Regions from separate parts of the Homo sapiens genome. Here regions 1, 3 and 4 are each linked to region 2. The links are contacts of gene promoters, found by promoter capture Hi-C in blood cells and fetal thymus (Javierre and others, 2016). All regions are on one chromosome and are shown on one strand. Each heading gives the region's core, a stretch centred on a gene start or on the middle of the fragment in contact. The rest is flanking DNA. Distances are from core to core; before and after follow the strand shown. Region 1 overlaps KMT5B (lysine methyltransferase 5B). Region 2 holds the start of UNC93B1 (unc-93B1 regulator of TLR signaling). Region 3 overlaps KMT5B (lysine methyltransferase 5B). Region 4 has its middle 18 kb from the start of KMT5B.

The links. The method cuts DNA at HindIII sites, captures the fragments that hold promoters and counts their contacts. A CHiCAGO score of 5 or more calls a contact.
Region 1: a fragment that was not itself captured here is called in contact with the fragment with the promoter of UNC93B1 in region 2 in 4 of 17 cell types (naive B cells, total B cells, neutrophils and 1 more); the score reaches 10.5 in naive B cells.
Region 3: a fragment that was not itself captured here is called in contact with the fragment with the promoter of UNC93B1 in region 2 in 1 of 17 cell types (total B cells); the score reaches 5.5 in total B cells.
Region 4: a contact is called between a fragment that was not itself captured here and the fragment with the promoter of UNC93B1 in region 2, in 1 of 17 cell types (total B cells). The highest score is 5.0, in total B cells.

The regions. Positions count from the first base shown.
Region 1 is chr11:68,195,467-68,202,913 of GRCh38, reverse strand. The region is part of intron 1 of KMT5B (lysine methyltransferase 5B); the gene reads left to right. Among named protein-coding and RNA genes, the nearest start is that of KMT5B, 14 kb to the left of the region's middle. The HindIII fragment of the contact is 9,199 bases long and covers 1-7,447 here.
Region 2 is chr11:68,002,487-68,009,082 of GRCh38, reverse strand. UNC93B1 (unc-93B1 regulator of TLR signaling) reads left to right here and starts at 4,986. Exons shown (of 11, transcript NM_030930.4): 1 at 4,986-5,135; 2 at 5,285-5,426; 3 at 5,908-6,061. The coding sequence starts at 5,040. It also overlaps a transcript of ALDH3B1 not described here. RefSeq lists enhancers at 3,943-4,485, 4,486-5,029, 5,934-5,983, 6,084-6,133, 6,234-6,433 and silencers at 4,864-5,163, 5,224-5,633. The HindIII fragment of the contact is 17,319 bases long and covers 1-6,596 here.
Region 3 is chr11:68,173,642-68,180,319 of GRCh38, reverse strand. It overlaps KMT5B (lysine methyltransferase 5B), which reads left to right. Exons shown (of 11, transcript NM_017635.5): 4 at 120-188; 5 at 5,137-5,302; 6 at 6,407-6,516. Among named protein-coding and RNA genes, the nearest start is that of KMT5B, 36 kb to the left of the region's middle. The HindIII fragment of the contact is 9,089 bases long and covers 1-6,678 here.
Region 4 is chr11:68,228,309-68,234,834 of GRCh38, reverse strand. No RefSeq gene overlaps it. Among named protein-coding and RNA genes, the nearest start is that of KMT5B, 18 kb to the right of the region's middle. The HindIII fragment of the contact is 2,196 bases long and covers 704-2,899 here.

The sequences.
Region 1 (7,447 bases), core at 2,269-4,768, 200 kb before region 2:
GTACTCAAACAGGTATTTTGTACACCCACGTTCACAGCAGGATTATTCGGCCAAAACATGGAAATAAAGCCAGGTGCAGTGGCTTACGCCTGTAATCCCAGTACTTTGGGAGGCCGAGGTGGGCAAATCACGAGGTCAAGAGTTCAAGACCAGCCCAACCAACATGGTGAAACCCCGTGTCTACTAAAAATACAAAAATTAGCCGGGCATAGTGGTGCGCGCCTGTAATCCCAGCTACTCAGGAGGCTGAGGCAGGAGAATCGCTTGAACCCGGGAGGCAGGGGTTGCAGTGAGCTGAGATTGAGCCACTGCACTCCAGCCTGGGCAACAGAGTGAGAGTTTGTCTCAAAAAAAAAAAAAAAAAAAAGTGTGTCTTAGCTAGTAGGGAAGGCAGGTGTTACCAGATAATTACACAGAGTAGTGAGTATGGTTGTAATAAGCACCATGCTGAGAAACGTTAAGGGTTAAAATGTATAACAAGGAAATCTATATAGCTGGAGAAGTGGGGTTGGGCAGGGACTGAGGAGCAGTGTGGCGGCACCCCAAGTGCAAAGGCCCTGTGGTGGGAAGCTGCCAAGCTGTTTCCCTTTCCTTTGTGTAAGTATCTTTAATATTTTGTTACAAAAGTCACAGATGTTTATTTTGAAAAGTTGAACATGTAGCAGGTAAATATTGCTTGTGATGTCATTCTCCATTGTAATCTCACTCACTGTTAACCAGTGGTGTACTGGATTGTTTTCTTACCAAATTATAACTAAATCACTTGAAAAATGTTTTCTTTGCCTTTCTAAATAAAGATTTATGAAAGTCCTCTAACAGGCTAGAACCTGCTTTTTATTATTTCTTTGAGACAGAGTCTTGCTCTATCACCTAGGCTAGAGTGCAGTGGTGCAATCTCCTGGACTCAAGCCATCCTCCCACCTCAGCCTCCTGAGTACCTGGGACTACAAGCACGCACCACCACACCCGACTAATTTTTTTTTTTTTTTTTTTTTGGTAGAGACTGGGGTCTGACCATGTTGCCCAGGCTGGTCTTGAACTCCTGGGCTCAAGGAATCCACCTGCTTCGGCCTCCCTAAGTGTTGGGATTACAGGCGTGAGCCACCACACCCAGCCAGAACCTACTTTTTAAAAATGTGTATTGACTTTTCTTTTTCAACCACTTGGGGATTGTTTCCCTGCCACTGGATAATTTCTCTAAGATAAACTGTTTGCAGACAAGTTCAGCATGTCAACTGGCTAGAGGGTTCTCGGTAATGTCACAGGAATTACGTTAACATTCTTTCTAGTCATTCAGAATCAGTGTTTTAACTTTTTTGACAGATTTTTTTTTTAATCTTAGTTTGTTTTTAGGATATTAAGCAAAAAATGCCTGTGTTTAAGTAAAAATGGATTGGAATCAGAGTTCTCAAATTGGACACAATTTCTCAAAAGTCACTCAACAATTTATAATCTCATAAAGAGCCTGGAAAGAGAAGGGCATTGACATTTGTTGAGGGGCCATCACTGGCATAGAACAGGCATGGTTATGTGAACGTAGCCCATTTTCTATGAATCAATGCTGCTTTCTTTTGAAATGTGTTAAAGTATTAAGGTTTTCAGTTTTTTTCTGATTATAAGTAAATAGGTTCACTGTAAACGTTTGGGGAAAAAATACTTTTGAAAGTTATCCTTCCCCCCAGCAACGGTAGCACTGGTGATTTGGAATGCATTGTGGTGGTGCTGGTGGTGGTGGGTGTCGCGCTTCTCACCTTAGTGGCATCGTGTTATGATTAGGAGTTTCCGCTTTAAATACAACTGGAAATCATTCTTGAAATCTTTTCCCCTTTAAATACATTTCTTATTTTAGCAGTTTTCCAGTATGTTTTATCTTGATCATAAATTGTCCCCTCACCCCCCACCTCCTTATTTATGTTTGGTACCAGAATCTGTAGTAAGTGCTTCTTTTCCCATGTGTTGATCCAGTGAAACCACATAAGGTGACTCTTCCTGTTGATTTCAGTGCTGGGTAAATCCCTTGGGGAAGTGATGCTGCCCATCTTGGAGCAGAATCCCAATTCCATTTTCTCAGAGCCTGATTGCATCATTTCTGTGAATACTCACGAAAGTAGAAGGCACAAAGCCTTGCACAGTAGTCCTCAGGAATTCCACTTCGTTTTCCTACTCAGATCATCTGTATTACTCCCATCCAGAGATTTAACCAATCTATTAGTTTAAAAAAATTTTTTTAACACAGATCCTATAAGCGCTCTGAAGGCTTGCCTTCTCAAATTAACTAACCTATTCCCATCACCTCCCACTCCATAATTTTAACTTACATTTGTCTTTTCTGGCCTGCGAGTCAGTCTCTCTCTCTCTCGTTCCTGATATTGCCCTCTGCCATCTGTTTCTTAAAGCAAAGCCCCGTCTTCCTCACAAGTGCGTGTTTTAAGACATTGTGTCCATTTAGAAGTTCTCTGTTGTTTCTGAGCAAGGCTCACAGATCAGCAATAGCCCATCCTTTCCACGAGTTTAGACTCATAAAATAAAAGTATTTGCTTACTGGGCACCTATAGTCCTTGCCTGAGTTGGTAACTCCCTCCACAGAGTGGTCCCTGTCATGCCTGGCTCTGCTTCTCACTTGTTGCTCCTTTTGTGATCCTGTGCTGCTTCTCCTCCTCTTGACCTATACATGTTAAAGTGCCCCCGACACCCAGTCCTTGGACTTCATTGATCTGCACTGAGTCCTAGATTTCATCTGATTCCATGGCTTGAAATGCCATTAATACTTTGATTTTATTTGAAGATAAAAATACCAGATTTTTATCTTCAGCTTGGAGCTGGACTCCAGACCCTGGTATCCAGCTGCCAACTCCAGTTGGATCTGTAGTGGGCATCTCAAAAGTGACTAAAACCAAAAAAGACCCCCAAAAAGGAAGAAAAAATGACCAAAACCAAATTCCCACACCGCAGTCCTTGCGGAAGCCAATCTTCCTATAGTCTTTGTCACATCCCTAAATATTAATTCCATTCTTCATTTGCAGGTATTTTTGAGTCCTCTTTCTCCTACACCTGCATTCAATCTGTCAGCAGTTCCCGACTATCAGCGGAACCTTCAGAAAAGATCTCGAAGCCAACCACTTCTTGCCACCTCTGCTGCTGCAGCCACTAGTTCTCCTCTGGCTAGCAGTAGTCAGTTAGTAAATAGACTACTACTACTAATAACGTCTCCCTGCATTCTCTTGTCCTAGAAATTATTAGTAGCTTCATTAGAACTGCTTTTTTAAAGTACCATGTAGCAAGCTGCCAGCATGGTCCTTTAAAACTGTGGGTTGGATCGTGTCACTCCTCTGCTTTCCCTCTCACTGGGAGTAAAGGCCCAAGTCTCAGCAGTGGCTTTGAAGCCCTTCTTCCCTGTGGCAGCCTCTCTGACCTCATCCTCCCACTCTTCCTCCATATTTGCCCCAGCCACGCCAGCCTCTGGGCCTTGTGTTTGCCCTTCCCTTTGTCTACTGCATGCTTCTTGCCTGATGCCTGGCTGTCCCTTCACATCCCTTGCTGTCTTAGAAAACAGCCACTATCACCCTCCTTCTCCACCTGAAACACTCCCTGCCACCATAAATGGCTTATTCCCCCCAAAAGGTGCCGACATTCATTCGTTAATTTATTATTTCCTAGTGCTTTTTTCCATTAGAATATAAGCACAGATGAGGGCAGAAGCCTTATTTTGTTCCATGCTGTATTCTCAGTGCCTGCAACAGTGTCTGGAATATAGTGGATGTCTAATTTTCCTGACATTTTTATATTGGGAAATCAGAACAGGATTTGTAACTAAAAAAAAAACAACGCAATTACTTTATTACTTTTGCACCAAGCTAATACACCATTTAAGAAGTGGTCAGTAATGGCCGGGCGTGGTGGCTCACGCCTGTAATCCCAGCACTATGGGAGGCCAAGGCGGGCAGATCACAAGGTCAGGAGATTGAGACCAGCCTGGCTAACACGGTGAAACCCCATCTTTACTAGAAATACAAAAAATCAGCCGGGTGTGATGGCGTGCATCTGCAGTTCCAGCTACTCAGGAGGTTGAGGCAGGAGAATGGCTTGAACCCGGGAAGCGGAGGTTGCAGTGAGCCAAGATCGTGCCACTGCACTCCAGCCTGGGCAACAGAGCGAGACTCCGTCTCAAAAAAAAAAGAAGCAGTCAGTACTTTCTTGAAATGTTTTTCCTAACAATTTGGGACAAAATTGAGGCAATTTTTACTTCTAAATGTAGTCAGTGGCTAATTAGCTCAGAGTGTGTCAGCCAAACCGTGACCATGGGGACATTTCCACGTGAGCCAGCTATGTCCCATGGGAGTCTGCACCCTTGTGTGTTTGTTGGGAGGGGGCACCTCTGTGGTAGCTATGAAGCATTTAGGCTTTGCTAGCCGCCCTGTCTTGTCTTGTCTTGTCTTGTCTTGTCTTGTCTTGTCTTGTCTTGTCTTGTCTTGTCTTTTTTCCTTTCCTTTCCTTCATCTTCTTTCCTCTTCTTTTCTCTTCTTTTCTTTTCACAGTCTTGCTGTGTCGCCCAGGCTGGATGGAGTGCAGTGGCACAATCTTGGCTCAGTGCAACCTCTGCCTCCTGGGTTGAAGCTATTCTCCTGCCTCAGCCTCCCAAGTAGCTGGGATTACAGGCATGTGACACCACGCCTGGCTAATTTTTGTATTTTTAGCAGGGATGGGGTTTCACCTTGTTGTCCAGGCTGGTCTCGAACTCCTGACCTCAGGTGATCTGCCCGCCTTGGCCTCCCAAAGTGCTGGGATGTTTTCAACCCCTATTTGTCTATACTCTACTACAGTATCGACTTGTGTTAGCTTTTTAAAATCCCATCGCTACCTTTAATGTGTAAACGTGTGGTCTTAGAGGAAAGATCATGCCAGCAAGAACAGATTCCACACTTAGGAGGGCAGAACAAATGATGACCTGATCATTAGTACAATATATATTCATTTTGAGCTGAAAATTTTTTTAAATAGCCCCCAAATTATTGATAGCTTCATTAGAATTGTTTTTACAAATGTTTCATTTATCAGTTTAAGAAAGATCTTTTGATAGCTTTTATCATATGGACCTGTGGAGAATCTCTCTCTGCTAGGCTACATCCAGACATGTGCAGTGCATTCATACTAGTGAAATTTAGCCATGTTCTGTGATTGACAGAAGTACCTGTTAGATTAAATTACCTTGAGTTCAAATAATATCAGTTGATCACAATATAAATGAGATCTGAGGGCACAGATTTTTTCCAGTTTGGATCATTAACCCACATTTAATTTAAATTATGTGCACATTAGAGTGGATCTCAGTCTGTGTTCCATGAATTGAACCAAAGTTTGCTATTACTAAAGTGATTTGTTGGTGAATTTTCCTAATTCTCAGAAAAATGTTTGGTTGATATTATAATTTCCTTAATTTTTTATTCCATAATTTTTCTTAAAATTTTGTATCTATTCTTTGCCCTAACATGATAAAATGAATAAGTAAATTAGAGCGATTGCTCTTACACTGGAGCTTGCATCACCTGGAGGTCTTACTACAACACAGATTGCTGGGCCTCATCCCCAAATTTTCTGCTTTCTCTCAAGTAGACATCTTGGTTGGGACTTAAAGACTTTCCATGGCCGGGCGTGGTGGCTCACGCCTGTAATTCCAGCACTTTGGGAGGCCGAGACAGGCAGATCATGAGGTCAGGAGATCGAGACTATCCTGGCCAACATGGTGAAACCCCGTGTCTACTAAAATAGCAAAAAAAAATTAGCCAGGTGTGGTGGTGCGCACCTGTAGTCCTAGCTACTCGGGAGGCTGAGTCAGGAGAATCGCTTGAACCCAGGAAGCAGAGGTTGTAGTGAGCCGAGTTTGGGCCACTGCACTCTAACTTGGGGACAGTGCGAGACTCCGTCTCAAAAAAAGAAAAAAAAAAAGACTCTCCATGGATAACCTTTCTATTCCATATATTTTATTTCTATTTCATATAATTATGCTTTATGTCTTATTTTTGAGGTATATTAGGACTCCTGAGAAGCCTAAAAGTACATTGTTCCATGATTATCCATAAGTTGTGTGTTAAACACAGGCATTCTACAGATGATTTCCTAAAGGACCAAAAGCACTTTTCCTGGTCCTGGTTCTTTTTCTCTGGAGGGTCAAGGACTAGGGAGTAAACCAGAAAGTATAATGGCAAGCAGTAGGGAAGTTAGTGGTGGTAGCAGCTGTGATTCCTGCCTTGTTTCTGTCTGTGCAGGAGCTTCTCTCACCCCCTTACACACCATGGACATTTTGAGAAAGGAGAGGATTTGAAGAGGTCAGGAAGTATCTTTAATTTACAGTTTTTTTTAATGCAGAAATATAGTTTCTATGATGCAGTTTAGAATACAACCTATTTATTTCATCAGTTGAGTGCCTCTAGGATGTACTGTGTGCTATACTAGATACACAAGGGCCAGAGATAAGAAAAATAGATTCTCAACCTTAGGAACTCTCAATTAAGGAAGCAGACACTTAAACAATATAGTCACATAAGGGCTTTCACTTAAGTTTTATAGCATAAGTATATAACTAGATTTGGCAGTGAATGTCAAGGAACACTTCCTAGAGGATGTGAACACTGAACTGGGACTTAAGGAATTAGGCAAAGAGATGGTGTTATAACATTCCAGGCAGACAGAGGAGAAAGGCATGGTGCATTGCCCTTCCCCACACCCCCAGGAAAAAAATGCATTTTATTTTATTTTATTTTAGACAGGGTCTTGCTCTGTCACTCAGGCTGGAGTCCAGTGGTGCAGTCTTGGCTCACTTCACCCTCCATCTCCTGGGCTCAAGTGATCCTCCTGCTTCAGCCTCCTGAGTAGCTGGGATTACAGGCGCATACCACCACACCTAGCTAATTTTTGTATTTTTGGTAGAGACGGGGTTTCACCATGTTGGCGAGGCTGGTCTCAAACTCCTGGATTCAAGTGATCTGCCCACCTGGGCCTCCCAAAGTGTTGGGATTACAGGCATGAGCCACCACACCTGGCCAAAAATTCATTTTATTTAATGACCAAGTATACACACATTTACACATATATAACTAAAACAAAACTTACTATGTGGGATGCATTGTGAAATATTCTGCTCTGTGTTCTTTCATTTAAAAAAAATTACTGGTCACAACATAGTAAAAAAAATGTTGCAAACCATTAATATGTTACAACCCATAATTGCCCTAGAGCACTATGAATGCTGAGCTATAATTTTAGGGAAAGTTACAGTCTTGCTCCTTAGAATTAGCCCATGGTAGTATTCTGTGTATTCAGAGGAAAATAACATAATCTTGTTACCATGTATGTGCCCTGGACATGGTAGGTGCTTTCTGTGTGCTTAAATCACCTACCTTCCCAGGCCCTGGAGATAAGAGTGTGACTTGCAACTATGTAACAGGACCCT
Region 2 (6,596 bases), core at 3,737-6,236:
CAGGAGGAGTGCCTGCCTCTCTGCTTAGGACCGTGGTCATGATGCCACGTGTCGCCTTGGTGGTTCCTGTAGTCCCGATCTTCCTCAAGTTCGGCACAGGCAGCTGTGCCTAAGCCTGTCCCTGCCTGCCCCCAGCCCGCCCCGGATACACCTGTCAGAGCCAGCGTGCTGTGGGGATGATGTGCAAGCTGCTGTGGGTGTGGACAGGCAGGGGACAGGGTGACAGGTGTGGAGGAAGAGCCTCCTCTATGCCCCTTCCTGGGCCTGCCGCTGCTACCATCTCCCTGGTGCCCTGGGCCTCCGTAGCTCCCGGCCCCGGGGCCTCTGGGCCAACGTGGCACCTGGGAGGTGCTCATCATGGCCCCCCCCACCCGCCAGCTCCCTGCCTACCTGGGAGGGCGGTGAGGTCTTCTGGACCATGCCCACACCGGTGGCCCGTGATTAGATAGTTAGGGTGGGGGTGAAGGACTGCAGAGCCCCTGTCCTCTGTGTGGGATGGAGCCCCCAGCCACTGCCAGTCACGTGGCTCAGCATGTGACAGCCCAGCCCTGCCATTCTCTGGAGCTCAGCCAGATTGAGCGGGTGCCAGGCAGGGCTGGGCAGGGGCTGAGCCTGTAGGTCTCAGCTGGGAGTGAGGCCCAGAGAGGGCAGCCACTGGTCTAAGGCCACACAGCAAATCAGGGACCCATCTTGGCGGGTACTGGCAGGTGGGAGGGGTGTTTCAGGATCCCGAGGGTCCCCTCCCTGGCCAGGGAGCTGTTGAAGAATTTCCCCCAACTCACAGGGGCCGAACTTGTCATGAATGCAGGAGCAACCTGGGAGGAGGCCCCCGAAGAGGCCTGTCCTCCCGGGACAGAACTCCTAGCCTTCCCTGGGAGTGAGGCTCCCCCCAAGGGAGGCCACACACCTCCCAGGAGGGCTGGGCCCTCCCCACTCTGGGTTGGGTGCCCCTCACTACTCCTCAAAGCTCCAGAGGCTCAGTAGGGCCTGGGAGTCCCATCTTTGTTGAGGAGCCCAGGGTAAATGGGGAGCCCTCTGGGTAGGGCACCAGGAGGACTCACTTTTGGAGCCAGCTCTGGGGTGAGGTCTGCCAAGGCCCAGGCCAGCCAGGGGGAGTGGGTGGAGGGGTTGCTCAGGGCTCCGGGCCAGACAGCTGCGGCCCCGCCTGCCCTGCCTCCTCCTTGCTGGGCTGACGCTTCGCCTCTTTGGGCCTCAGTGTTCCCATGTGAGAATGGGGCTGACTACAGTCCCGGGGGCATCTGTGGGTGAATGAGAGGGTTCGGCAGGCATGGATCTCAGCACCTGGCATGGAGGGCGTTAAGTGTGAGGTCTGGGCTCAAATCCTGGTCCTGTCACTTACCTGTGTGACCTAGGTTAGTGTCTTAACCCCCCGTGCCTCTGCCTTCCCATCTGTAAAATGGGACATAAGTGATTGTGAGGCTGAAACAAGTTATTCCATGCACGTGGGCCCGGAACTGTGACCATTCCAAGTGCCCGGCCCCCTCTGGAAGGGTCTGAGAGCTACCTTCCAGACTCTAGGACAGGAGTGTGGGCAGGGCATGAGCATGGCATCAGGTGGAATCATTCATCCATTCATAATTCATTCATTCATTCCCTCACTTCTCAGAAACACGCCCCTGAGCCTGGCTCACAGGGCCTCAGACCTGCCCAAGAGCATCTCACTGCCTCATCTGCCCACGAGTGACCTTGAAAAGAAACGTCCCCTCACTGGGCCTCAGTTTCCCCAGCTGTAAAATGGGGGCTGACTCTGCCTGCCTCACATGGCTACTGCGAGGGTGAAACGAGAGCCGACCTGAAGGCACCGACAGGGCACCTGGTTCTCAGTAGGCGCTCAGAGCATGTGAATGTCCTCCTGCCCCTCTCCTTGCCCTCCTGAGGAAGTGGCTGCCCCAGGCCTTGGCCCTGAGGCCCTGGCCCTGCCTCCCACCCCCTCCCTGGCAGTCTTGAAGGCTGGACCCACCCTGGCTCCTTGAAGAGGCAAAGTTAGAGGCTGTAGGGGCCCAGGGCCCAGGACACAGTCAGAACTCACGGGCAACGGTGAATGCGGGTCACTTGTTCATTTACGCACTCAACAAACCTTTACTGAGCACCTACTGTGTGCAGACACTTCACACAATTTTCACAATTCCCAGACATTATTGACCATGCTTTCCAGCTGGGCCACACAGTGACAAGGACTCATGGGGATCCACAACCAGCCTGGCCTGGCTCCCCGGCCCACGGTGCTTCCAAGGTGCCTGGAGCCCTCGCACAGGAATGGGCTGGAGTCTTCAGCTCTGGGTGAGCCCTTTGCCACCAACTCTCAGGAGCCTCAAGTCTCAGTGGAAAGCAGCAGCCACCTGGGCATTTGCTGTGCCAGGCACTGGGCAGAGCCTTTGGCACACCCCAACCTGGGGACCTCCCACCATCCTGTGAGCCAGACTCAGTGATCATCATCCCCATTGGCTTTAATGTTTAAAATATTGTGGAATCACATCCATGCCAGGGAAGTGGTGTGAAGGGAATCACGTGGGCTGCCCAGCACGCTCCTGTGTCAGTGCAATGCGGGGCAACAATATTCCAAGAGGTTGTTTCAGGGAGTTCCAGTTGAGAGCAATATTTATTCTCTTCTGCTTGCTTTTCTGCAAGGAACATCGATTATTTTCATAATGAGAACTGAAAGTAAAGGCTTATTATAGAGAAAAGCATTGGCAAACAGTGAGCACGGGGGGATCTGGCCACCCCTTCCTGGGGATGTGACTGTGCACTGTTGCAACCTGGATGGGTTGGTGGAGGTGCTGGCCCTGCTCAGATCTCTGTCCCGCAGGTCACCCTGGTGTGTTTATCTGGGCCACCCTATCAGCCTCTTAGATAGTCTCCAGGCTCCCCAAGAGCAGCTCCATAAACCACCTAAAAAAAAAAATCCTTTCTGGAGAGAGGAGGTGTATCAGTCAGGGTTTAGTGCCTCCAGGGCTGTTTTTTGTTTTTTTTGTTTTTTGTTTGTTTGTTTGTTTGAGAGGTCTCACTCTGTCACCCACGCTGGAATGCAGTGGCACAATCTCAGCTCACTGCAGCCTCATCCTCCTGGGCTCAAGCAATTCTCCCACCTCAGCCTCCTGAGTAGCTGGGGCTACAGGTGTCCACCATCACACCAGGCTAGTTTTTGTATTTTTTGTAGAGATGGGTTGGGGGGGGGGGTTTGTCTCACTTTGTTGAGGCTGGTCTTGAACTCCTGAGCTCAAGTGATCCTCCTTGGCCAGCCAAAGTGCTGGGATTGCAGGCGTGAGCCACAGCGCCCGACCCTCTCCAGGTGTTTTGAGTAGGAGACATTGAGTGCAGGGAATTGGTGGTACAGCACAGGTGATGGAAGAGCCCAGGATGGGCAACCATAGCAACCGCCACAACCCCCAGGCCCAGAGGAACAAGGGGAGGAAGAGATTGCACCAGGCCCCAGAAGTTTGGGGTCCCTCAGGGAAATTGAGAAGCTCGGGGGGCCCACTCCCAGCACTTTGGGGGCTAAGGCGGGTACATCACTTGAGGTCAGGAGTTCGAGACCAGCCTGGGCCAATATGGTGAAACCCCATCTCTACTAAAAATACAAAAATCAGCTGGGTGTAGGGGCACACGCCTGTAATTCCAGCTACTCACAAGGCTGAGTCAGGAGAATTGCACTTTCTCATCATACTGTGTAATGATGCTGGTGTCTGCCATCTGAGAACGGCCCCCGCCATAGCCATACTCTCCCACCTCCTCCCTGCCCCTGCGCCTCGGGCCCTGCCCTCTCTTCGGCTCCTTTCCTGTCTCCCACTTCCAGCCACCCACCTGCATGAATCCACCTGTCTGTTCCCCACATCTGCACTTGGGCATCGTCACCTGGAGAAAGTTCTACCTCCTGGAAGCCTGAAGCCACTGCAGATTCACGCCTCCCCCCACCTTCCCAGCAATCCTTGCGGGGTGGGAGGTGTTTGTCATCCAGTCACTCATGCACCCATCCAGTCACAAGTATTGATCACTCAGTAGGTGCCCAATGCCATCCTCTGCATTTGGGAGAGGATGTACCTAAAGAGCAGTGGGTGGAGGGGGGTGCACAGGGAGGGCATGGAAAACCAGAAGGGAAGTGAAGGGACTGCATTCTCTGCAGGGATGGTCTCTTGTTCTGAGAGCTGAGTGGGAAGGAAGCCACCTGGGAGGCGCAGCAGGAAGAGCATTCAAACCAGAAGGAACCCAGGGGAGAGAATCTGGATATTTTCAAAAGTGGCCCCGTGGCTCCAGCCAGGTCGGTGGTAGCCAGTGCTTTGGAGTGTCGGCCCCACCACAGGCTCCCGCTGCAGCCCGGGATCCAGTGCCCAGCAGGATGGGGGCAGGTGGCTCTGGGCCCCACTACATGGTTGTGGCAGGGTCCCCCATGTAGTTCAGTGGGGATCACAATCTCCACCTCCCAGGACCCACTCAAGCTCCCATTTGCACAGCCCAAACTGGAGCAGGATGGGGACATGGGAGGTGGGCTCTGGCTGTAGCGTCCGGTGGTGGGAGGTGGGGTCCAGGTGGTGACGCTACTGTCCCTGCAGTGCTCTTTGATGAGCTGTAACAGCAGGCTTGGAGGTGGGGCTGGGGACGACCCAGGCAACCCTGAGGGGAGCTTAAGGGAGCCAGGCAACCCTGGCACTTTTCCAAGGCTTTGCATTAACTCAATAGTTCCGCCATGGCCCCGGGGGTAGTGCCATGTATTTCTGTTTTACCGTCGAGGAAACGGAGGAAACCGAGGCACAAAGAAATGGAGTTAATTCCTAAAGTCACAGGGCCAGGAGGTGGCTGAGTGGGGATTCGAACTCACACCCCAGAGGGCACACACAGGCAGGCCCCTGCACACACGCGCGCGCGCGCGCGCACACACACATACACACACACGTGTCCTGGAGGAGGCGGCCCGCAGGGCGGGACAGGGCGGGGCGGGGGCAGGTCCCGGCCGCCGGGAGGAAGTGGCCGGGCGGTCGCAGGGACTCCGGGGCGACCGCCGCGAGTCCGCAGTAGTTCGGGCCATGGAGGCGGAGCCGCCGCTCTACCCGATGGCGGGGGCTGCGGGGCCGCAGGGCGACGAGGACCTGCTCGGGGTCCCGGACGGGCCCGAGGCCCCGGTGAGCGGGGACCCGGAGTGCGAGGCGCGGGCGTCCCCTGTGGGCCAGGGTCCCCCCGGCGGGGGCGGGGCGGGCCGGGGGGCGGCGGGCACCGGGGGACACGGGTTCGGGGCGCGATCGCGGGTGCGAGCGGCGTGCGTGGCTCGCAGCTGGACGAGCTGGTGGGCGCGTACCCCAACTACAACGAGGAGGAGGAGGAGCGCCGCTACTACCGCCGCAAGCGCCTGGGCGTGCTCAAGAACGTGCTGGCTGCCAGCGCCGGGGGCATGCTCACCTACGGCGTCTACCTGGGTAGGTGCCGCTCGGGGACCCGGGGCCGCCCCGCCCGCTCCCAGCCCGGCCCGGGAAACAGAAACCGCGGGCCGCCGCCTCCCGCCCGCTCTCACTTCCCCTCCGCTGCCCTCGCAGCTGCAGCCACGGCCCCCCGCGGCGGGGGTGGGGTTGGGGGGTCAAGTAGCGCAGCGTCCCCGGGTCCCAGCCAGAGCCTCGGTGTGGGTGGGGGACGGGGGTCCGGGCTCCCGGACAGACCTGCCACCGTCAGAATTGGAGGCCGGCGGAGCAAGGCGGGTGGGGGTCTGGGCTTAGCTGGCCAAGTGGCCGCGGGCTGGCAGAAGGCGTGGCGCAGCCCGGGAACCCCGCTGTCCTGAGGGGCGCTGTCAGCGGGAATGCCTTCGGTGATTGGAGCTCCCTGCGAGGCCTGCATGCCGTCTTCTGCTCGGTGGCGCCCAAAGCTAGGCTGCTCCCTGCACGCCGCTCTCTGTCCTGTCCCCAGGCCTCCTGCAGATGCAGCTGATCCTGCACTACGACGAGACCTACCGCGAGGTGAAGTATGGCAACATGGGGCTGCCCGACATCGACAGCAAAATGCTGATGGGCATCAACGTGACTCCCATCGCCGCCCTGCTCTACACACCTGTGCTCATCAGGTGGGCGCGGCTGCTCCTGTGGGATGCTGCGGTACTCCCATTTCGGAGGGGTACAGAGGCCGGCGGGCCAGGAGGTGTCCATCTGCCGGGGTGTTTGTGGGGCGAGGGAACAAGGGAGAGGTTTTTTTCTACCCGGAAGCCTGAGAGTGAAGGGGGTGAAACTCGGATTTGGGGAAGGAAACAGGAACTTTGCCTCAGGGCACATTTGGTTTCCAGCAACAGATTCACACGGGCTGAGCTCCCTCCCAGCTTGCCTGGGCCTCACGTGGCACCCTCCTCGTGGCCTCCTTGGAGGCCTCCCAGAGCCACTGTGGCCTTCAGGGTTGGGGCTGTAGAGTTAGGGGTTTCTGATCGGTCAGCAAAGTCCAGGCACCCATGCCTGGCCCAGTCGCTGTGACTGGTGCTGAGGGGGTGTTTCTCACAGACAGGCATGGCTGGGCAGGTGCCCCAGAGCTCTCCCCCAGATCTGAGCCCTGGAGGTATGTGGTTCAGCCTCCCCATCACCGGTCCACAGTGCCCTCCCTGATGGGACCTG
Region 3 (6,678 bases), core at 3,197-5,696, 170 kb before region 2:
TTATCACAGAGTTTTAAAGATTTTTGCAACAACGAATATTGTAAGTCTGTTTAGAAATTACAAGTACAGATTATACAAATAGCTTTTTATTTTTGTTGTTTGTTTTTGCATTTATATAGCGCCTTTCCTTCGAGGAGCTCAAGGCATTTTTCAAAATCTGACAGTTTTTCTCACAACAACCCTGTGAGGTAGGTAGTGTGTGTTAAAAACAATGAGATACTGACTAACCCATTCTAGCCTTTTAAAATGTTCTTTTATGTTAAGTAATTTGAAGTGTCAGCATAAATTAGAGTTTTAGAACATTTTACAAACCTTTTAAAGTAGTTTGATAATAGTTGTATTTTTTAAAAAACCACTTGTACTTCATAACAGGGTGATTTTAAGAGAAACAAATCATTCTTCAAAAGATCAGGAGTCACTCCATGTGATTAGCTGAGCACTGATTGCAGGACTCAGCCAGGTATGTTTTTGGTTCTCGTTTATTTTCAGGTCAAGAAGGACTGAAGAGCTGATCTGCGACTCCTCACTCAGCGTCTACAAACTGTGGATTTGCAGCTAAACTTTCTTCAGAGGGGGAAATGTGTTCACTATGTTGCCTCATGGTTTTATTTTATATCTTAAATATTTGAGCATTTTTCTCTCTTCCTCTCTCCTTCCCTGTCTCCCTTTTTTCTGTTCCCCTTCCTGTTCCCCACCCCTCCAGTCAGCTCTTGATTGTGCATGCTAATGAAGGGCACAGTAGCACAGCTAATACAGTCTACAACTTTTCTTCACTGCCACAGTGGGGAGACAGAAAAACCAAATAGCAAGAAAACCTGGGAAGTGAGTCTCTGGAAAGAGTGGGGAACAGGTGTGTGGGAGTGTGAATTCATATGTTTTTTTCCTGCCCCTTTAATAATAATCAATTGTAAATGACATTTTTATTTTTCTTATACCAGCCATTGATTGGAAGTGTAAAAAGAGAAAAAATAGATATGTTTGGTTGATTTAAAGTAGCAAATTTTCTATTAAGGGAGGGAGGACGGGGCATATTGGTTTGGAAATGCCAAATAACTGTTTTTCTTGCCTCCCTTGTCACCCACCCCCCCACCCAAATACGAAATTTTAAAATTCACATTTGCGTCCATCCCTTCCACTGTATTGTCAGTATACAAGCTAGAGCTGTCTCTGGCTGGGCCCAGTGCTGATGTTCAATGGCAAACGCAAGTCAAATCCTCTTCTAACCATGAAACAATGTGAGGAAGGCTCTCCTGAGCCAGGTGATATAACAGGAACCAGAAAGGCCAGGGTAAATCCCAGGTCTTCCATTCATTAACCCTAAGTCATTGGCAATCTACTCAGCCTTGTTGGGCCTTATTTTCCTCATTTGTGGAACAAAAGGGCTGTTCTAAATTATCTGGCCTTTAAGTGTCAGAGTAAAAGGATAGTTTTATGCAGTTTGTATGGGAGATTTAGAGTGATTATAGTTAAGGAGAGAGGGTATTTTTCTGTTCAATAATAGGAAAAAAAAAAATTTCCCTAAGGTTTTCAGTGCATTTGCACCAGCCCTAATAGGTATAACAGTCTTAACTTTTATTTTCCACAGTATTTGTTACAATGGGATTTGATTTGGACTATCAGCCAGCTGACTTTTACATACTTCTGTAGGATTATTGAAAACAACTGTCTCATCTCCTGCCTGTCTGCACCCTTAACCATTTTCTTCCCCCTTTTCCTTACTGTCATTTCATGCCCATAGCAGCCAACTGTGACAGTAAGTTTTAACAGGTTTGGGACAGCAACTTATATTTTTAGTGAAATAGAGGTTCTTGCTATTGGTAGCAAGGGATAGTTTCAGGGGTTTTATTTATGTTTGAGGCAATAAAGTCAGGAAAGCAGAAACAGAAGTCAACACAGGGAAGGTAGGCAGAATACTACTAAATCAAGAGTTGACTATTTTGTGTTGGTTTTAGCATGTAAATTGTTTGGCATTATGAATAAAAAGTAAACAAAACCAAGGTTACCTGAAGGCATTTTTAGATAGGAATGAACTTGTTTCAGAAAGCATAGAACACACATAAAGCCTATTAAAAATAGCCAAGTTTCATTCCAGGTCTATAACTTACTTTTGTATAATGTTCCCATTGGTCACTTTCACATTGAACGTGTAAAGATAGCTTGGCCCTTTCTGTCGTTTGTAGCCCTGTCATTTAACGGCATGGATAATTTATTGCATTTGCTTAAAGTGAACTATTGCTTTTCTGATTGCCACACAAAGCACGGGTTATCTGTTTCCCACCATTTCATATTTCATATTTCATATTGCTCGACAGGTCATGCCTTAGCTGAGAGCTGCTTTGTTGTCTTATCTGTCCTTCATGTGCAAATAACCATGTAGTGTAGGATTGCAGCAAGAATGGTTTCCATTGGATTTCTTGGAGATGGTATCTTGACACAATCAATTGTGATGGCTACAAGTAGTTGAGTATGGATATTTGGATGCTTTCCCAATTCTACAGCTCTTTATTTTCATGGTGGTTCTCTGACACCATATGTCGACAGACTAGTAAGACGTTCTGAATTGTTTAAAGGACTTGCATTTATCTGTCTGTAAAGGCTTGTATACCAATTGATTGAAAATGGAAAATAGGGCCCTGTTCATTTCTTCAGTATTATCTCTAGGATATGTTTGAACTTTCAGATGGTTCAGCTAATAGTTGTGAGAATTCAGGATTACTGAATTAAAAAAAAAATGACTAGAGTGTGTAGCTAGTAAGTTCCTGGTAGTATCAGTATGCATTAATACACCTGAAGTCTTCCAGTGATCCTGTCCAGTAAACAGTATTATACCTGTTCAGGACCTCATGTCTTTCCTCTTCCTGATTCTGGTACTTTACTTTATTATTGCTACCTAGCTGACCCTGGTCAACTCTTTGAATCCAGCTTGATTAAGATCTTCTGCTTAGACTTCCCCTCATTCTTCCTTCCTTTTGATTCTTACCTGCTTATAATGTGCTTTTCTTAAACCTTTCCCATGTACATTTTGCACCCTAGTTATAATTTCTATACTTTTAGGTGCTATAGCAATGCAGTTTTTAGCATATTAACATGCATTTGCATATTGATCACTTGCTTAACTGTTTGATGCATATATATGTCTTTTAGTCCCAATTAAATTTTCCATTCAAGAACAGTGGCCATGTCTTCTCTTGTATTTTTCACCATAGCACTTCATATGCCACTGTATACACAACACAGCACCTAATAATCCTTGATGAAATACTGTGGCTTGAAATCTTACTGAAATACTATGAATACATATATGATAGCTTCTCTAGGAAAAAAAATTCTGCTGAATGCTTCCTTTGCTGGAGTTTGTGCTAGATCTTACCTCAATTTTAGCATATTCAGGTTTATGAAATGTACAATTTTAAATGTCAGAGTAAGACACATAAAGATTTTTTTCTCCTGAACCACTAATATTTTTTCTTAATGTATTTTATTTGAATGGCAATCGGTGATTCCTTTTTTCTGTTGGACGTTTTGTTTTGTTTTTTTGATACAGAGTCTTGCTCTGTCACCAGGCTGAAGTGCAGTGACGCGATCTTGGCTCACTCCAACTTCAACTCTCGAGTTCAAGCAATTCCCCTGCCTCAGCCTCCTGAGTACCTAGGACTACAGGCGTGTACCACTACGTGGGCCTGGCTAATTTTTTGCATTTTAGAGACGGGGTTTCACCAGGTTGGCCAGGATGGTCTCGATCTCCTGACCTCGTGATCCATCCGCCTCGACCTCCCAAAGTGCTGGGATTATAGGTGAGAGCCACCATACCGGGCCATAATCCGGTTAGAATTAGCTTTATGAAAATAAAATAAAACTTTTTTTTAAAATAAAAACTTTATTTGGGAGAATTAGCTTTATGAAATTGACATGAAAAGAAAATTTGAAATTAAGATGCTAGTAACTTTATAGTACACGTTTTACTGAAAACACAGCTTTAGAATGAGGGGTTCACAAATTTGTCTTGCTTGGGCCATGACTGCATCATGCATAAATACAGACCTAATGGGATAATATTCTGAAGACATCAGTGTGGCTGATTCTACAATGGAAGCCTTTTCAATTCTACCCCTGCAGGCCAGGCGCAGTGGCTCACACCTATAATCCCAGCACTTTGGGAGGCCAAGGTGGGCAGACCACTTGAGGTTAGGAGTTCAAGACCAGCCTGGCCAACATGGTCTCTACTAAAAATACAAAAATTAGCTGGGCATGGTGGCGCACGCCTGTCATCCCAGCTACATGGGAGGCTGAGGCAAGAGAATCACTTGAACCCGGGAGGCAGAGGTTGCAGTGAGCCAAGATCACACCACTGCACTCCAGCCTGGGCCACAGAGTGAGACTCCATCTCAAAAAAAAAAAAAAAAAACAACTCTACCCCATCAGTTTTCCTACATTACCAGTATAGCAATTTCACCACTAGAGTTAACACTGCTTGTACTCGTTTTGTTCTCTGAATGCAGTCATCAAAGATGACTTTGACATGGGTGGTTAGAACATCAAGGTGTGTTTCGAAGCCTGTTGGAATACTTAGTTTGGGGTTTTTTCTGACTGTGTACATAAAGAATGTTTTTGTGTATGGCATGGTTTTGTTTACATCATCATACTTCTGAAATTCATTGCCTGGCACTCTTCCAGCTTGATTTTGCATGTTTTAAAAAGATTCTTGTCATTCTAACTCTAAATTAGGTGTGCTGTATTCTAGAGCTTTGATTTTGTGTCTCCCAAAGTTGACGACTAGTGTAAGTCTGAATCAGACAGCTTTTGTTTGAATCGTCTGCTCACCTCACAGTTAATGAGATAACAGTGAAATAAAAATAATTAAAATAACAGATTGAAAAAAGAGAAGTTACTGAGATAACAGTGAAATAAAAATATTAAAATAACAGATTGAAAAAAGAGAACTTGCGTATCCAGGTGATCAGTATTACTTGAATAGTAGTAATCAAGACTATTGATTGTTGTTCTCTTCTCTTAGATCTTTGCTCTGATAACCATGGCTGTTTTTAGGGTATTAGCTCTTTCTCAAGATCTGTTAAGATGGATCAGTGGCGCAAGGATTGTGGCAGATAACCCATTCATTCTTTTGATTTCTTTCAGATTTAGGCCTATTAAAGGAAGGCAGGAAGAACTAAAGGAAGTAATTGAACGTTTTAAGAAAGATGAACACTTGGAGAAAGCCTTCAAATGTTTGACTTCAGGCGAATGGGCACGGCACTATTTTCTCAACAAGAATAAAATGCAGGAGAAATTATTCAAAGAACATGTAAGTTTATTAAGACTGATGCTGTTAACCTATTTGGATAAGAATAGTGAAGTAAATTAAAACCCTAAATGTTAGTTAATACTGAAATTTTAAATTTATTTTTCATAAAACTAATCAGTCTGAAGATCTTGTAACACATACAGTCATTTGGATGACAGTCCAGAGAAAAAACTGGGCCAGGCTCAGTGGCTCATGCTTGTAATCCCAGCACTTTGTGGGGGCTAAGATGGGAGTATTGCTTGAGGCCAGGACTTCGAGACCAGCCTGGGCAACATAGCAAGACTCCATCTCTAAAAAAATAAGAATAAAAAAATTAGCTAGGCATAGTAGTGTGTACCTTTGTAGTTTGTAGTTCCGGCTACTCAGGAAGCAGAGCCAGAAGCATTGCTTGTGCCCAAGAGTTAGAGGCTGCTCTGAGCTATGATCATGCCACTGCGCTCCAGCCCTGGGAGACAGAGCAAGACCCTGTCTCTAAAACCAAAAAAGGAGAGAAAACTTTGTCATATAGAGGTGAAATTCATTATGAGCCTTAAGGGAAACAAGCCATTAGGTACTCATACAGAGTGAGTACCCTTAACCCCAAAATTTGAAATGCTCCAAAATCTGAAACTTTTTGAACACCGACCTGACACTCAAAGGAAATGCTCATGGGAGGATTTTGAATTTTTTGTTTAGAGGTGTTCAGCTAGTTACTGTAATGCAAATATTGCAAAATGAGAAAAATTGTGACATTCAAAACTCTTGAGTAACAATAAAGTTTGTTACCTAATGATCTTACTTTTTTTGTTTATTTTATTGTTTTTTTAGAGGCAGAATCTTGCTCTGTCACCCAGGCTGGAGTGCAGTGGCCTGATTATGGCTCACTGCAGCTTCCATCTCTTGGGCTCAAGTGATTCTTCCTCTCAGCCTCCCACGTAGCTGGCACTAAAGGTACATGCCATCATGCTTGGCTAATGTTTTTCGTAGAGACAGGGTCTCGCTATGTTGCTCAGGCTAGATCTTACATTTTTTTCATCATTGCGGGTGGTTTGCTTTTATAATTGTAAGAAAGTCTAGCAGGGTATACCATTTAAAGTCATTATCAATTTTTTTTTCCTGTTTTAGGTATTTATTTATTTGCGAATGTTTGCAACTGACAGTGGATTTGAAATATTGCCATGTAATAGATACTCATCAGAACAAAATGGAGCCAAAATAGTTGCAACAAAAGAGTGGTAACTATTCTACTAGTATAAGCCTTTAATTTAATTTAAAGTTCTCTTCTAAATTATTGTTGAAGTGCTGAGAAATTCATGGTAAGGAATGAAGCCAGAGTTTACCCTGAAGTAGCCAATGCATCGCCGTTGCCTTGGCCCATCAGCTGGAGTCAGAGTGGG
Region 4 (6,526 bases), core at 552-3,051, 230 kb before region 2:
AGATAGGCTACAACAATCAATCAAATAAACAAAAAACAAAAATAGTAACAAAAACCAGTAAACCCTGGATAAGGGGGAGAATATGATTTCCAGTTACAATTATGAAATTCAATTGTCCAATGCTCAACAAAACATCAAAAGGCATACAAAGAAACAGAAAAATATAGCCTATTCGAAGGTTAAAGAAAACCACAAATAAACAGAAACTGTCCCTGAAAAAGAGCTTATGGCAGGTGTACTAGAAAAAGGCTTTAAAGCAACTGTCTTAAAGATGCTCAGAAAACTACAGGAGGGTATGGAGTAAGTCAAGAGAATGATGTGTGAACGAAATGGAAATATCAGTAAAAATAAAATCTAAAAGAAACCAAAAAAATTTCCAGAGCTGAAAAGTACAACTGAAATGAAAAATAAGTAGAGGGCAGATTCAAAGGCAGGTTTAAGCAGGCAGAAGAAAGAATCAGTGAACTTGAAGATAGGGTAATGGAAATGATCAAGTCTAAAGAACAGAAAGAAAGAAAAAAAAAAGACTGAAGAAAAATGAACAGAGCTTAAGGGACCTTGGGATACCATCAAGTAGACCAACATAGGCACTGTGGGAGTCACAGAAAGAGAAGAGAAAGAAGCAGGGAGAATATTTGAAAAATTAATGTCCATAAATATCCGAAATTTGATGAAAGAGATGAAAAGAAACATGCAAGAAGCTTAATGAACTTCATGTAAGATGAATTCAAAGAGATCCAACCAAATGCAGTGGCTCATGCCTATAATCCCAGTGCTCTGGGAGGACGAAGCAGGAGGTTGGCTTGAGCCCAGGAGTTTGAGACAAGCCTGGGCAATATGGCAAAACCCTGTCTCTAACAAACAAACATATAAACAAACAAACAAACAAACAAACAAACAAATTAACTGTGCATTGTGGTGCATACCTGTAGTCCTAGCTAGCTACTTGGGAGGCTGAGGTGGGAGGATCACTTGAGCCCAGGAGTTCAAGGCTACAGTGAGCTATGATCACACCACTGCACCCCAGCCTGGGTGATAAAGTGAGACTCTGTTTCCAAAGAGAGAGAGAGAGAGAGAGAATCAGTGGCTCATGCCTTTGGGAGGGTGAGGCAGAAGAAGAATCACTTGAGCTGAAGAGTTTGAGACCAGCTTGGGCAACATAGTGAGACCTTGTTTCTACAAAAAATAAAATAATTAGTCAGATGTAGATGGCACACACCTATAGTCCCAGCTACTTGGGAAGCTGAGGTGAGAGGATTGCTTGAGCCCAGGAGGTCAAAGCTACAGTGAGCTATGATTGTGCCACTGCACTCCAGCCTAGGTGACAGAGTAAGACCCTGTCTCAAAAATTAAATTCAATTGGCTGGGCACAGTGGCTCACACCTGTAATCCCAGCACTCTGGGACGCCGAGGCGGGTGGATCACCTGAGGTCAGGAGTTCGCGACCAGCTTGGACAACATGGCGAAACCCCATCTTTACTAAAAGTACAAAAATTAGCCAGGTGTGGTGGCACGCGCCCACAGTCCCAGCTACTCAGGAGACTGAGGTAGGAGAATCGCTTGAACCCAGTAGGTGGAGGTTGCAGTGAGCCAAGATCACGCCACTGCACTCCAGCCTGGGTGACACAAAAAGACTCTGTCTCAAAAATAAATAAATAAATAAATAAAATTAAATTAAATATTAAAATTAAGAGAGAGAAGGAGTCACACCAAGACACGTTACAATTAAACTTTTGAGGCCAGGTGCGGCGGCTCATGCCTGTAATCCCAGCATTTTGGGAGGCCAAGGCAGGTGGATCACCTGAGGTCAGGAGTTTGAGACTAGCCTGACCAACATGGAGAAACTCTGTCTCTACTAAAAATAAAAAATTAGCCGGGCATGGTGGAGCATGCCTGTAATTCCAGCTACTCAGGAGGCAGAGGCAGGAGAATTGCTTGAACCTGGGAGGTGGAGGTTGCAGTGAGTCGAGATTCCACCATTGCACTCCAGCCTGGGCAACAAGAGCAAAACTCCTTCTCAAAATAATAATAATAATAATAATTAATAATAATTAAACTTTTGAAAGACAAAGAGAGAATGCTGAAAGTAGCAAGAGAGAAGAGACATGTGACATACCAAGATCTTAAATAAGATTTTCAACAGATTTCTCATTAGAAATTTTTCAGGCCAGAAGACAGTGGGCTGACATTTTCTTTTTTGTTCTTTCTTTTTTTTTGAGACAGAGTCTCGCTCTGTCGCCCAGGCTGGAGTGCAATGGCTTGATCTCGGCTCACTGCAAGCTCCACCTCCCAGGTTCATGCCATTCTCCTGCCTCAGCCTTCTGAGTAGCTGGGAATACAGGCGCCCATTACCACGCCTGGCTAAATTTTTGTATCTTTAGTAGAGATGGGGTTTCACCATGTTAGCCAGGATGGTCTCAATCTCCTGACCTTGTGATCTGCCTGCCTCGGCCTCCCAAGACATTTTCAAACTATTAAAAGAAAAAAAAAAACAGCCGGGCATGGTGACTCACGCCTGTAATCCCAGCACTTTGGGAGGCTGAGGAGGGCAGATCACGAGGTCAAGAGATTGAGACCATCCCGGCCAACATGGCAAAATGCCATCTACTAAAAATACAAAAATTAGCAGGGCTTGGTGGTGTGCACCTGTAATCCCAGCTACCCAGGAGGCTGAGGCAGGAGAATCGCTTGAACCCAGGAGGCAGAGGTTGCAGTGAGCTGAGATCATGTCATTGCACTCCAGCCTGGAGACAGAGTGAGACTCGGTCTCAAAAAAATAAAAAATAAACAAACAAAAACAAAAACAAAAAACCTGTCAACCAAGAATCCTATATTGGATAAAACTGTCTTTCAAAAGTGAAGAATATGTGCTTGGCTGAAAAGCCAATGCAGCAAAGCTTCCATCCGTGAGATTATGACTGAATGCCTCTAAATCAAAACTCCGCCCAGGCAGAAGGCAGAATGATATGATAGCACTGCAGAGCCTTGGTTGGCCTCAGATAGCTGGTCCTTTACCGTGCTGCCAGTGCCTCATCTGGTGCCAGGACCGGAGTCCAGTACAGAGAACTCCTCAACCCGTGAAATGGGGTATGGCCAGAAATGGGCTGTCCCCGCTGGCCCATCATGGAGTGCACATTCACGGAGAACCTGGTACTAAACCATTCATAGACAACCTGCTTCTGGGTCAGGATTTTGTACATAGCAGAGTATCTCCCTCACTGTGATCTATTTAAAGTCAGCCCTCAAGATAAGGGTTTGTAAAAGAAAGGAATCAATAATATAAAATTTTTTGAGACAAGGTCTTGCTGTGTCGCCCAGGTTGTAGTGGAGCGGCATGATCACAGCTCACTACAGCCTCAGCCTCCTGGGCTCAAGTGATCCTCCCATCTCAGCCTCCTGAGGACTACAGCTGGGACTACAGACATGCACCAAGCCCAGCTAATTTTTTTTTTCTTTTTTGTAGAGTGGGGTTTCTCCATGTTGTCCAGGGTGGTCTCCAACTCCTGGGCTCAAGCAATCTGCCCACTTTGGCCTCTCAGAGTGTTAGGATTACAGGCATGAGCCACCATACCCAACCCATAAATAATATTTTTAAGAAGATAAAAGAAAAATATAAGAAAAGCCAAAGGGGCCAGGTACAATAGCTCATACCTATAATCCCAATACTTTGGAGGACAAGGCAGGAAGATCACTTGAGTCCAGGATTTTGAGACCAGCCTGGGCAACATAGTGAGACCCTATCTCTACAAAATCAAAGGTCAGGCGTTGTGATGCATGTTTGTAATCCTAGCTACTCAGGAGGCTGAGGGAGGAGGATTGCTTGAGCCCAGGAGGTTGAGGTTGCAGTGAACTGTGATCATGCTACTGTACTCCATCCTGGGTGACAGAGTGAGGCCCTGTCTCTGAACAAAAAGAAGAAAGAAAAAGAAAAAAAAAGCGAAGAAGAAAACTCAAGAAGTTCATAACCAGTAAACCTGCTCTGCAAGATATGCTTAAGGGAGTCCTGAAGGTGAAACGAAAGGACACTAGATAGTAACATGAAACTGTATGAAGAAGTAAAGATCTCAATAGAGGCAAATATATGTGCAATTATAAAAGCTAGTACTATTGTAACAGTAGGTTGTAAAACTACTTTTGGTTTTCTGCAGAATTTAAGAGACTATTACACTTTAAAAAACAATCAGTATCGGCCGGGTGCAGTGGCTCACATCTGTAATCTCAGCACTTTTGGAGGCCGAGGCAGGCAGATCATCTGAGGTCAGGAGTTCAAGACCAGCCTGGCCAACATGGTAAAATCCTGTCTCTACTAAAAATACAAAAATTAGCCAGGCATGGTGGTGGGTGCCTGTAATCCCAGCTACTTGGGAGGCTAAGGCAGGAAAATCGCTTGAACCTGGGAGGCGGAGGTTTCTGTGAGCCAAGATCGGGCCACTGCACTCCAGCCTGGGTGACAAGAGTGAGACAGACTCCATCTCAAAATAAATAAATAAGTAAATAAAATAAATTAAAAGTCAGTATAATAATAAATTAATTAATTGATTAGTTAAACCAAGAACTAATCCAACGCTAGTATTACTGTAACTGGTTTGTAACTACACATTTTGTTTGCTGTATAATTTAAGACACTAACTTTTTAAAAATCATTGTCAGTTTATGTTTTGGGGCATAGAATGTTTAAAGATATAATTTTATGACATCAACAACCATAAGAAAAAGAGATGGAGCTGTAAAAAGAGCAGAGTTTTTATACGATACTGAAGTTGACCTGGTATAAATTCAAACCAGAGTGTTATAACTTTAGGATGTTGATATGGTTTGGCTGTGTCCCCACCCAAATATCATCTTGAATTGTAGTTCCTACAATCCCCATTTGTCATGGGAGGGGCCTGGTGGAAAGTAATTGAATCATGGGGGTCATTACCTCAAAGTTGCTGTTCTCATGATAGTGAGTGAGTTCTCATGAGATCTGATGGTTTTATAAGGGGACTTTCCCCCTTTTGCTCAGCACTTCTCCTTACTGTTGGCATGTGAAGAAGGACATGTTTGCTTCCCCTTCCACCCATGACTGTAAGTTTCCTGAGGCCTCCCCAGCCATGGTGAAGTGTGAGTCAATTAAGCCTCTTTCCTTTATAAATTACCCAGTCTCGGGTATGTCTTTGTTAGCAGCATGAGAATGGACTAATACAGATGTTAAATGTAATACCCATTGTAATAACAAAGAAAATAGCTGTAGAATATACACAGAAGAAAATGAGAAGAAATTCAAACATTTTTCTATTAAAAAAAAAAACCAAACACACCAAAAAGCTTGTAATGCAGGAAATGAGGTCCAGAAAAGCTAGGAAGCAAACAGAGGACAAATAGCAAAATAACAGCAGTACATCTCTCCTTATGCACTGAGAAGACATCACCCCTGGATATTCTTGCCACAAACGCACAACTTGAATCTACTCACAAGGAAACATCAGATAACACACACAGAAGGACATTCTGCAAGTCAAGACCACAAAAAGCAAAGCAAGACTGAGGCACCAAAAGACAGGACAACTAAACACATCCTGTGATCTTGGACTGGCTGCTGGACTGGGGGAAAAGCATGTATCAAATTATAGTATTGTATTGCTGGTGAGTTTCCAGATTCTGACAACTACAAAAGTGATTATGTAAGAGAACAACCATTTTGGAAATATACACTGAAGTACTCAGGGGTGCAGAGGTGGGGTGTTTCTAACATAACCTCACGATTCAAATCATCTTCATTATTCTTGGATTCTGTATTTGTGGGTTCACCTCTAGCTAAATTTATTTGTAACCCCAAAATCAATACTTGGGCCTTTCTGTGGGTATTTGAAAGCCGGTGCATACACAGAGTGGTGAAAAATTGATGTCTCCAGAGACTAAAGTCACCCGCTGAGGTGAAGCAGTCAGCACTCATCTCCCTGTTTCAGCTCTCCGACCCGTAAACAAGTGTCCTTTTCACAGTCTATTTAGTGTCATGTTTTTCACAGTTTTGTGCTTCTTGTTGGTGATTTCACCATTCAAAATGGCCCCCGTGCAGTGCTGAGGCTGTCTAGTGTTCCCATGATCGAGAAGGCTATGCGTGCCTTTGGGAGAAAATGCCCGAGTTAGATAAGCTTCATTCAGGCAGAGTTTTAGCGCTCATTGACCCCCACGGCCACGTGGGGTCAATGTCAATGGATCAACAATATGTATTAAATAAGGTGTATTTAGGCCGGGCACAGGGGCTCACACCTGTAATCTCAGCACTTTGGGAGGCCGAGGCATGTGGATCACCTGAGGTCGGGAGTTCGAGACCAGCCTGGCCAACATAGCGAAACCCTGTCTCTACTAAAAATACAAAAATTAGCTGGTGTTGTGGCACACACCTGTAATCCCACCTACTCAGGAGGCTGAGGCAAGAGAATCACTTGAATCCAGGAGATGGGGGTTGCAGTGAGTCAAGATGGTGACACTGCACTCCAGCCTGGGCGACAGAGTGAGACTCTGTCTCAAATAATAATAATAA